3 separate regions of the Homo sapiens genome follow, and all the other regions are linked to region 1. Evidence: promoter capture Hi-C in 16 types of primary human blood cells and fetal thymus (Javierre and others, 2016). All regions are on one chromosome and are shown on one strand. The core of a region is centred on a gene start or on the middle of the fragment in contact, and the rest is flanking DNA. Distances in the headings are between cores, read along the strand shown. Region 1 holds the start of PURB (purine rich element binding protein B). Region 2 has its middle 21 kb from the start of TBRG4. Region 3 overlaps OGDH (oxoglutarate dehydrogenase).

What was found. Contacts are between HindIII fragments. The CHiCAGO score rates a contact against its expected background, and 5 or more counts as called.
Region 2: a fragment that was not itself captured here is called in contact with the fragment with the promoter of PURB in region 1 in 12 of 17 cell types (fetal thymus, M0 macrophages, neutrophils and 9 more); the score reaches 9.5 in fetal thymus.
Region 3: a fragment that was not itself captured here is called in contact with the fragment with the promoter of PURB in region 1 in 3 of 17 cell types (monocytes, naive CD8 T cells and total CD8 T cells); the score reaches 9.9 in monocytes.

Annotation. Positions count from the first base shown.
Region 1 is chr7:44,884,130-44,887,504 of GRCh38, reverse strand. It overlaps PURB (purine rich element binding protein B), which reads left to right and starts at 1,975. Exons shown (of 1, transcript NM_033224.5): 1 at 1,975-3,375. The coding sequence starts at 2,157. The coding sequence ends at 3,095. RefSeq lists enhancers at 1,546-1,795, 1,944-2,903 and silencers at 1,786-2,145, 2,436-2,485. The HindIII fragment of the contact is 4,558 bases long and covers 1-3,025 here.
Region 2 is chr7:45,131,051-45,134,289 of GRCh38, reverse strand. No RefSeq gene overlaps it. Among named protein-coding and RNA genes, the nearest start is that of TBRG4, 21 kb to the right of the region's middle. RefSeq lists an enhancer at 1-469. The HindIII fragment of the contact is 5,554 bases long and covers 1-3,239 here.
Region 3 is chr7:44,641,678-44,645,203 of GRCh38, reverse strand. The region is part of intron 2 of OGDH (oxoglutarate dehydrogenase); the gene reads right to left. Among named protein-coding and RNA genes, the nearest start is that of OGDH, 37 kb to the right of the region's middle. The HindIII fragment of the contact is 9,176 bases long and covers 1-3,526 here.

The DNA of each region.
Region 1 (3,375 bases), core at 726-3,225:
CCCTCGGGTAAATACCTAGAAGTGGAGGCTGGCTGCGGTGGGTCACGCCTGTAATCCTAGCACTTTGGGAGGCCGAGGTGGGTGGATTGCCTGAGCTCAGGTGTTCGAGACCAGCCTGAGCAACACGGTGAAACCCTATCTCTACTAAAATACAAAAAATGAGCTGGGTATGGCTATAGTCCCAGCTACTTAGGAGGCTGAAGCAGGAGAATTGCTTGAACCCAGGAGGCAGAGGTTGCAGTGAGCCAAGATTGTTCCACTGCACCCCAACCTGGGCAACAGAGCAAGACTGCTCAAAAAAAAAAAAAAAGTGGAAATGTTGGGTCTTATTTTATGAAAGGTATATAAGAAACTGCCAAACTGTTTCCCAAAGCATTTATACCATTTTATATCCTTACTAGCAATGTATGAGTTCCAGTTTCTTCACATCCTTCTCAACACTTGATGTTACATTTTTTAATTTTAGCCATTCTAGTTGGTATTTCATTCTGACTTTAATTTATATTTCCCTAATGATGAATAATGTTGAGCACTGTTTCATGTGCTTACTGGCTTTTTTGACGAAGTGTCTGTTAAAATCTTTCACCTTTTATATTGGGTTATCTATTATTTGTGTTCTTTACAAGTCCATTGTTGGATTCACTATCTATGAATAACTACATTTAGGCTGGGTGTGGTGGCTCACATCTGTAATCCCAGCACTTTGGGAGGCTGAGGCGGGCAGATCACCTGAGGTCAGGAGTTCAAGACCAGCCTGGCCAACATTGTGGAACCCCATCTCTACTAAAAATACAAAAATTAGCCGGGTGTGGTGGCGGTTGCCTGTAATCCCAGCTACTCAGGAGGCTGAGGTAGGAGAATTGCTTGAACCCGGGAGGTGGAGGGTGTAATGAGCTAAAATCACGCCACTGCACTCCAGCCTGGGTGACAGAGCAAGACTCAAAAAAAAAAAAAAAAAAATTTAAGGATGAGGACATTTTGGCTTTGGAAAATCAAGTAACTGGTCAAGGTCACAGATTCAAACCCAGTGCAGTTGCAGAGCCTACACTTTTTAACACTATTCCAATTCTGCCTCTTGTTACACCTCAATGCTTACAACAAAAAGACCTCATAGGAATTATTCATTTTATTGATAAAGAAACTAAAGATTGGCAGTCAATTTCCTTAACCACTTTAATATGGCTAACTGTGGGGACAGTTAACTGATCTCTGGATCCCAAATCTAACCTCATCCTAAATCATCTTCTTTCTATATTGTTCCCACAGTGATCTTTCCAAAATGTGAACCTGATCACATACGGTGGCTCCAGACTCTGGGGTAGGCACTAACTCTCCCGCACTGCAAATGGCTTTCCTTGATCTAATCCACCCTCCAGTGTCATCTACGACCATTCTTCAGGCATACACACCCCCAGCTGCTCTGAGCTCCCAGCATCAGGCCCTGGGTGCCTCTGCACTGCCGTCTCCTATGCTGGGTGGCTCTTCTCCAGAGTTGCCAGGCCAACTGCAGTTTGCCCTTCAGAGTCAGCTCATGCCTCCTCTAGGGAACCCCACAGGCTGGTCAGAACCCGCTTCCGAGTGCTCCAAAGGATCTCCCTCCCCCCGGTCGCCAGTGTATAGACTGGAACTCTGTTCCCAGCACACAACCAGCGCGAGCAGGCTGGGGCCTGAGTATGCTCAGCTAACGCCCCGGAAGCGAGAAGGAGGGAAGTGGACGACACCGGAGTCTAAAGTAAAAGTGTCACGGGAAGAGGCGCGTAGACAGACGCAGCGGGCGGCTGAGTCACGCTAAGGCTGGCAAGTCCCCAGGGCTAGAAACCGAGCAGTAACACTAGCCTACTCTCAGCTTGCCGCCCGCCCGGCGCGGCCCCTGACGTCACCCCTCTGCGCCACGCCGCCGCGGCGCTTCCGGCCGCGAGGCCGCGGAGGGCGGGACGGAGTGACTTCACGGGAAATCGCGCGCCGGAAGTGGCTAGGGCTGCACGGAAGTCGCGGGGGCGGGGCGCGGAGGCGATGGGGGGGCGGCGGCGGCCGGCGATGAGCGGCGGGAGCGCGTGAGCGAGCCGGGCGGGCGAGGCTGGGGGGCCCCGGAGCGCGAGCCGGAGGGCGGGGGCGCGAGCGCGGCGGGCGGTGGCGGCGAGGCGGCGGCCTAGAAGATGGCGGACGGCGACAGCGGCAGCGAGCGCGGCGGCGGCGGTGGGCCGTGCGGGTTCCAGCCCGCGTCCCGCGGCGGCGGCGAGCAAGAGACGCAGGAGCTGGCCTCGAAGCGGCTGGACATCCAGAACAAGCGCTTCTACTTAGATGTGAAGCAGAACGCCAAGGGCCGCTTCCTCAAGATCGCCGAGGTGGGCGCGGGCGGTTCCAAGAGCCGCCTCACGCTGTCCATGGCGGTGGCCGCCGAGTTCCGCGACTCGCTGGGCGACTTCATAGAACACTACGCGCAGCTGGGCCCTAGCAGCCCCGAGCAGCTGGCGGCTGGCGCCGAGGAGGGCGGCGGGCCGCGGCGCGCGCTCAAGAGCGAATTCTTGGTGCGTGAGAACCGCAAGTACTACCTGGACCTCAAGGAGAACCAGCGCGGCCGCTTCCTGCGCATCCGCCAAACGGTCAACCGCGGCGGTGGCGGCTTCGGCGCGGGCCCCGGGCCGGGCGGCTTGCAGAGCGGCCAGACCATCGCGCTGCCTGCGCAGGGCCTCATCGAGTTCCGCGACGCGCTGGCGAAGCTCATAGACGACTACGGAGGCGAGGACGACGAGCTGGCAGGCGGCCCGGGAGGCGGCGCCGGGGGCCCAGGGGGCGGCCTGTATGGAGAGCTCCCGGAGGGCACCTCCATCACCGTGGACTCCAAGCGCTTCTTCTTCGATGTGGGCTGCAACAAATACGGGGTGTTTCTGCGAGTGAGCGAGGTGAAGCCGTCCTACCGCAATGCCATCACCGTACCCTTCAAAGCCTGGGGCAAGTTCGGAGGCGCCTTTTGCCGGTATGCGGATGAGATGAAAGAAATCCAGGAACGACAGAGGGATAAGCTTTATGAGCGACGTGGTGGGGGCAGCGGCGGCGGCGAAGAGTCAGAGGGTGAGGAGGTGGATGAGGATTGAAACGGGCAGCTTCCCCTACAGGCCTCCACCCAACCACCATCCCCTTGGCTAGAGAATTCCCTTTCCTGCTCATCCCCAGTGAGCTAGTGGAGAGGGAGCAAGGGAGGCCGCAGAGGGAAAAAACAAAACGTAACACAGTTAAGAGAAATAATCGTAAGAGAACAGTGACGGACAACTTGAGAAAAGCAGTCAAGTTCCAAGGAACTGACAGCAACCTGCAAAGAGGAAAACAGCATCTCCTCACCTGCGTAAAATTGTCTCAGCTTCTGTTGTTTCTCAA
Region 2 (3,239 bases), core at 457-2,956, 250 kb before region 1:
CAGGCTGCATGATATCTCAGCCTAGGACCATCCATGCTCCTTGCGTCCTTGTGTAGCGCTGGACTCTTCTGAAAGCTCGGGGGCGACTCCCTGTCAGAAGCCTCGCAGCTGGGGAGGAGCCTCTGTGGGTATGCACCTGGGGTCTGCATTTCATGTGCCTGTGCCCCTGGCCACACACAAGTGTTAGCAAATGGACCACAAGTGAACAAGCTGGACAGAGATGACACCATGAGGCCTTAGCCACCAGGGCTGCGCCCAGCATCCTCTGCAGCCCTGCTCTACCTGCTGTGGTCCAGGGCAGAAACAGAGCCAGTGGGACATCCAACCCACCTGCCAATGACCACAGGCCCATGAGGCCCACGGTTCTGCTAGGTACAAGAGAAGGGGCAGAGGGCCCACTGCAGCCTCACAGCCTTGCAGCCCTGGAGTAGGAGGTGGCAGTAGAGCTTTGAAAGATGGGAGGAGAGAACTTTCTAAGCAGGAGCTAGAGGCAGGAGGTGTAGCAACTGTATGCAGGGACATGACTTGGTGAGACAGGAGATGTAGGAAGGGTGTCAGAGCAGACAGACCATGATGAGGGCAGAGGGCTGAGGGCAGGACCTGCACCCAGGGTCGGGACCCCTATAATGAGAGTGAGACCTTCACCGAAGGGTCATGACCCCAATGACAAGGACAGGACATTCACCCAGGAGTCCTGACTCTGATGACAAGGGCTGAGGACCTGCACCAGGGTTGTGACCCTGATGACAAGCATGAGACCTTCACGTGATCAGAGGCCGTGACCCTGATTGCAAGGGCTGAAGGCAGGTCATGTACCCAGGGCCTGTGGCAGTCACCACAAGACCAGGACACACCTGTGGAATAGCATGGCCTCCTCCATCCCTGTCTTTACTCAGAGTTTTGGAGAAAATCCTGACCCAGCTGACCCCATAGGACCAGGAGTGGGGACAGTGTGCTCCAGATGACCACAACCCGGGGCCTCATTTCCCCATCAATCCTGGGCACACAGGAGCTGCTGGGGAGTGAAAGAGCCTGTGCATCTTAGAAGATGATAGGCTGGAGCCAGGCAAGCCAGGGGCCAACAACCTTCCCCTGGGCGCAAGAAGAACCCTACATTCCTTGCCTCTGGGGCTGGTGAGCCTGGAGGAATGGCATTCCTGGAACCCTCTGGCTTCTCCATTTGGCCCTGAGGGCTCTAAGGGCAGCTGTGCACCTAACCCGAACTCCTTGTCCTGCCAACACCTCTCACTCCTCCCCACTGCCCCCCACCAGCCACACAGAACATGTGTTCCCTCCTGGCCCCCCGGGCCCCAGCTCCCTCTGGTAGTTGGAATAGGTCTCATTATTACCCCATTTTACAAATGAGGAAGGAGTAAGCTGCTCAAGGTCACACAACTAGCACAGCCAAGACTAGATTCACACAGGCATGCACTCAAACGCTTCCTCTAGGCCACTTCATTCAAGGTCATGAAGGGCATGAATGCCACACCCCAGCATTTGGACTTCTCCCCCCAGGTAATGGGAAACCGCCGAAGAGTTTCAGATGGGGTTGTGATAGGATCATGCCCAGGCGTGAAAGGCCATGCTGGACAGAGCATTGACAACTAACTGGAAAGTGGGGAGGCCTGATATAGTCTTCCCTCCCTCCATCCCTGCCTCCTTCCCTCCCTCTCCCACCTCCTCCCTCCCTCCTCCCCTCTCTCCTTCCCTCCCTCCCTCCCTCTCCTCCTTCCTCCCTCCCTTCCTCCTTTTTTCCCTCCCTTCCTTCCCATTAAAGGCTAATGCCCCAGATGCTGCAAATGTGCTGTTCAACAAGATGAGAGAGGTCCTGTGCTCTGGAGGACAGTATACAGGACATCTCATGAACAAATCAGATCGTCTGTAGTCAGACAAGTGTGTTAAGGCGGTTGTTGCAGTGGCCGATGCCACAACAGCCCATCCCAGGGCAGCAGCCCAGAAGAGCTGACAGGAACACACTCAAGAGGGTTTTGGAGGGGCATCCACCAGTGGCCCAACCTCTTGGTAACTGATTAGATGGAGAAACACAAAAGGGAGGCCCTCCAAGTCTCTGGCTGTGAGGAACCATTCCCAGGGAAAGGAGATGTGGGAGGAGGCCAAGTTCTGCATTGGCAACAGTGGGCAGATGTGGGTCCAAGGCCTCTGAAGGCTGAACAGATGGGCGTGCTCCGGACCAGGCAGGGCCCTGGTTGTGCCTGGGAGCTGCTGCCAGGGATGCAGGGGTGGGGGCTAGGGCAGGGGCTCAGGGAGCGTGGGCGGATGCTTCCCACAGGATGAGGGGAGGGGAGAGCAGAGAAAGGGGATAGTGGCAGTGCCATAGACATTCCCTGAGGAGTGAGGACTATAGAGGGACAAGAAACAGGAGGGAGGCTGGGGGAGCTGGGGTGCAGGGGCAGTTTGAAGGAGGACTGCAGAGGCTGGACACCACTGAGAAGGAAAGACCCAGCCAACCTGAGCTCATGGAACTAGCAGTTACTTTACGCGTAGAATAATTTTATCTGTAGGAAAACAGCCCTGGGATTTCCAACTTCATATGAAAGTAGTAGGGGATTGGCCAGGCGTGGTGGCTCATGCCTGTAATCCCAGCACTTTGGGAGGCTGAGGCGAGTGGACCACCTGAGGTCAGGAGTTCAAGACCAGCCTGGCCAACATGGCAAAACCCCGTCTGTACTAAAAAATACAAAAATTAGCCGGGTGTGGTGGTGGGAGCCTGTAATCCCAGCTACTCGGGAGTCTGAGGCAGGGAGAATTGCTTGAACCCAGGAGGCAGAGGTTGCAGTGATCTGAGATTGCACCACTGCACTCCAAACCGGGTGACAGTGAGACTCTGTCTCAAAAAAAAAAGAAAGTAGTTGGGGTTGAAACAACACGATGTTTCAGATTTAAATTCCAACAACAACACAAACAATAGTAACATGAGTCCGACAAAATGTTGACAAGGTTAATCTAGACCATCGGTCTGTGAGTACCTATTGAACTATTATTTTTACTTTGCTGTATGTTTAAAATTATCATAATAAAAAGTAAAAATAAAAGCCTCCACCATCACCCATCGACCTATCTACCCAGTGGGCAGGATGAGCGTGTCTGCTCATGAGGTGTCGGGGACCAGCCCTGCATACCCAGGTGTGCCAGCAGGGACTGGGAATCGGGCCAGATGCTTGGAGGACACTTGGGCGGGGCCTCCCATGTGGGCGAAACATGGACCCTTTGGCCCAGCA
Region 3 (3,526 bases), core at 527-3,026, 240 kb after region 1:
CTCCTGGACAGTGGGGTCTCTGTCTGTTCCCAAACGGTGGGTTTCTCTCAGCATTCAGGCTCCCTGCTTTCCACAACTTTTGTCTTCGGGATGCACTTTCTGACCCCCACAGCTATAACACAGATGCCCTGTGGCCGCCTTCCATCAACACACATAACCCAAAGGCCCAATGCCAACAGCTCTCCTCAGTTCCTATTCACTGGGCCTGGGGACAGATTCAGGATGTAGGTCAACAGAGACACTTACTGTCTCAGCCTTCCCCCCGGCCCCAGCACCTGGGAGGTGATCTCTTGACCTTCTGTCTATAGGTCTGCAAACTCTACCAGTTTTTCTGTGGGATCAAACACCCCATCAAACACCTCCCTCAAGGCCCCAAGGGCTCAGCACAACCTGTGAAGAGCCCAGGGTCACCTTGCTCATGTCCTTTCACTTCCCTGGGAACAAAGTGGAACCTGATCCTTTGTAAGAGGCAGCACTAACCCCACAGAGAAATAATATCATTGCTACCTCAGGAGAAACTCAGGAGCTAAGAGCTCAAAGTGTGGGGTCAGAGATGGAAATTCAAATCTGATCTCTGTGTCAGGGATCAAAATTCAAATTCAAGAGGTAGGCTCTTAGTGAGTTACCTTTCTGTGCTGTTTTCTCATCTATGAGGAGAGAAATATATACATTCTTCATAGGTATGCTGTAAAGACTACCCTAGTTAAAGGCATTAGCACACAGTCTAATACTTCACAAAGTCAGGTGTTAGTTATCAGTTTGAATTTCCTTAGAAAAACTATAAACTAATTTACTTATATTCCTACTATTTTTGGCTATTCCATGTCTGAATTATTTGATTTACAATTTGCAGATACTGTGAACTGTAATGGTTTATTCATCTCATACAAAGATGCAAGTTTTTAAAATATTTAAGAGATCAGACATACTAAGACTTCACAAAAGTTCATTGTAAAAAGAAAAGAAAAGCACAATTAAACATCAGTTTATTTTAATTTTTTTGAGATGAAGTCTCGCTCTGTTGCCCAGGCAGTGTGGTGGCATGATCTTGGCTCACTGCAACCTCCACCTCCCGGGTTCAAGTGATTCTCCTGCCTCAGCCTCCTGAGCAGCGGGGATTACAGGAGCACGCCACCAGGCTTATAATTTTTGTATTTTTAGTAGAGATGGGGTTTTATCATGTTGGCCAGGCTGGTCTCAAACTCTTGACCTCAAGTGATCCACTTGCTTTGGCCTCCCAAAGTGTTGGGATTACAGGCGTAAGCCATCGCGCCTGGCAAAACATCAGTTTAAAAAAAAAATAGAAACATTGTTTTTCTTTTCTGCAATACCTTTTCCAGCCTCTAAAATTCTTCCATCAATAAACTCTGATAAGACTGTCTTGAAAAACTTGGAGAGGCAAGGCAAAACTTTATGAGATCTTTGCATTCTCCTTCTAACAAGATGCCACCCAGATGTGCTCCTTGTCTGGGACATGGCTGGATATCAAATGGGTCTGTCTGAGTCTGGAGACCAGAAGGTAGAGATGGCTACAGAATCCAGTATGCTGGTCCTTAAGGTCTTCTGTTTTTTTCAGACAGGTTCTTTTATAATGCTGGCTAGGGCACAGATGTACGTCACTCAGATGGTCCCACTACCAAGAGCACTGCTATATACTGCTGCTAGACACAAACTAGAAAAGACACAATGATAATGCACAGGCCTGGACCATCTGCCTCATGCAGGGGAGTCTGATCTCTCAGTGAAATCTGTTTTTGAGGGGAGTTTTGTGGAATACTTTTTTTTTCCTTCCCTTTTTCTTTTTTGTAGAATATTTAAAACATTCTATAATAAGCATGTATTTTTTGGTATTCAGAAAAAATAACTTAAAGAAAACAACCACCAGAGATGTGACTGCACAGTATTGTGAACATACTAAAAACCACTGTAGCTGGGTGTAGTAGCATGTGCCTGTAGTCCCAGTCACTTGGGAAGCAGAGGCAGGAGGATCACTTAAGCCTAGGAATTCAAGGCTGGCCTGGGCAATACAGCAAGAACCCATCTGTTAAAAACAAAACTCCACTGAATGGTACACTTAAAAAATGACTTTTTTTTTTTTTTTTTTTTTTTAAAGAAACAGGGTCTTGCTCTGTTGCCCAAACTGGTCTCAAACTCCCAGCCTCAAGCAATCCTCCTGCCTCAGTCTCCCAAAGTGATGGGAATCCAGTTGTGAGTCACCAGGACCAGGCCAAATAATTACATTTATGTTATGTGAATTATATTTAAAAATTTTTTTTTTTTTTGAGACAGAGTCTAGCTCTGTTGCCCAGGCTGGAGTGCAGTAGTGCAATCTCGGCTCATTGCAACCTCTGCCTCCTGGGTTCAAGCGATTCTCCTGCCTCAGCCTCCCGAGTAGCTGGGATTACAGGCGCCTGCCACCATGCCCAGCTAATTTTTGTATTTTTAGTAGAGACAGGGTTTCACTGTGTTGGCCAGGCTGGTCTCGAACTCCTGACCTTGTGATCCACCCGCCTTGGCCTCCCAAAGTGCTGGGATTACATGCGTAAGCCACTGCACCTGGCCTTTAAAATGTTTTTACAAATCAAACTATTTGAGGTTTTACGGTTTTTACCTTTCTGGTTAATTTCTGGTGTATTGTCTGATGTAGAAGACAGATTTGGGGTTCTCTTCTGGCACCTCCCACAAAACCTATTACAGAAGCATCTTATACAAATGTAACCCAACAATCAGGAACATGAAAAAAGGCTGCAAACTTTCCTTTTCTTTCTTTTTTATTTTTTGAGACAGGGTCTGGCTCTGCTGCCCAGGCTGGAGTAGACTGGCACGATCTTGGCTCAATGTAACCCCCACCTCCGGGGCTCAAGTGATTCTCCTGCTTCAGCCTCCTGAGTAGCTGGGACCACAGGCACGCACCACCACGCATGGCTAATTTTTTTACTAAATATTTTTTTGTGGAGATGAGGTTTCACCATGTTGCCCAAGTTGTTCTTGAACTTCTGAGCTCAACTGATCTGCCCGTCTCAGCCTCCCAAAGTGCAAGGATTATAGGCATGAGCCACCATCTGGGCCTAAACTTTCCTTTTCAACAGATGCTATCAAAATGTTTGCTAAAGAAACCCAGGGTTTGGAATCTCCAAAGAGATTCTCACCTTCCTCCATTAAATCGGTTCTCATGAAAACTCAGTGTTCTCCTCCAACATGAGAAAAGGCAGTATTTCCACCAGAGGAAAAAACTGACTTACTCTTAGGAGAGAAAACAGAGGATGTCTCAGCATCAACTCCCTAGGCAAAGTAAAGGCTGCCTCCCACTCAGTCCATGACTGGTTCTGTCAAGGACACAGGGATCTAAAAGGTGGCTGTGCACAAATACACTGGACACCCTCAGGTACTTCTGACTTCATGGAGCTTTTCCAGCAGGACTGAGAGCTCCATACATTCTAGAAGCAGAGATGACTGGGGACCACATGCATTGGACATCCATCTTCATTGTGAAAGCAGGGATGACCAATGACTGCACTTCTTGGCC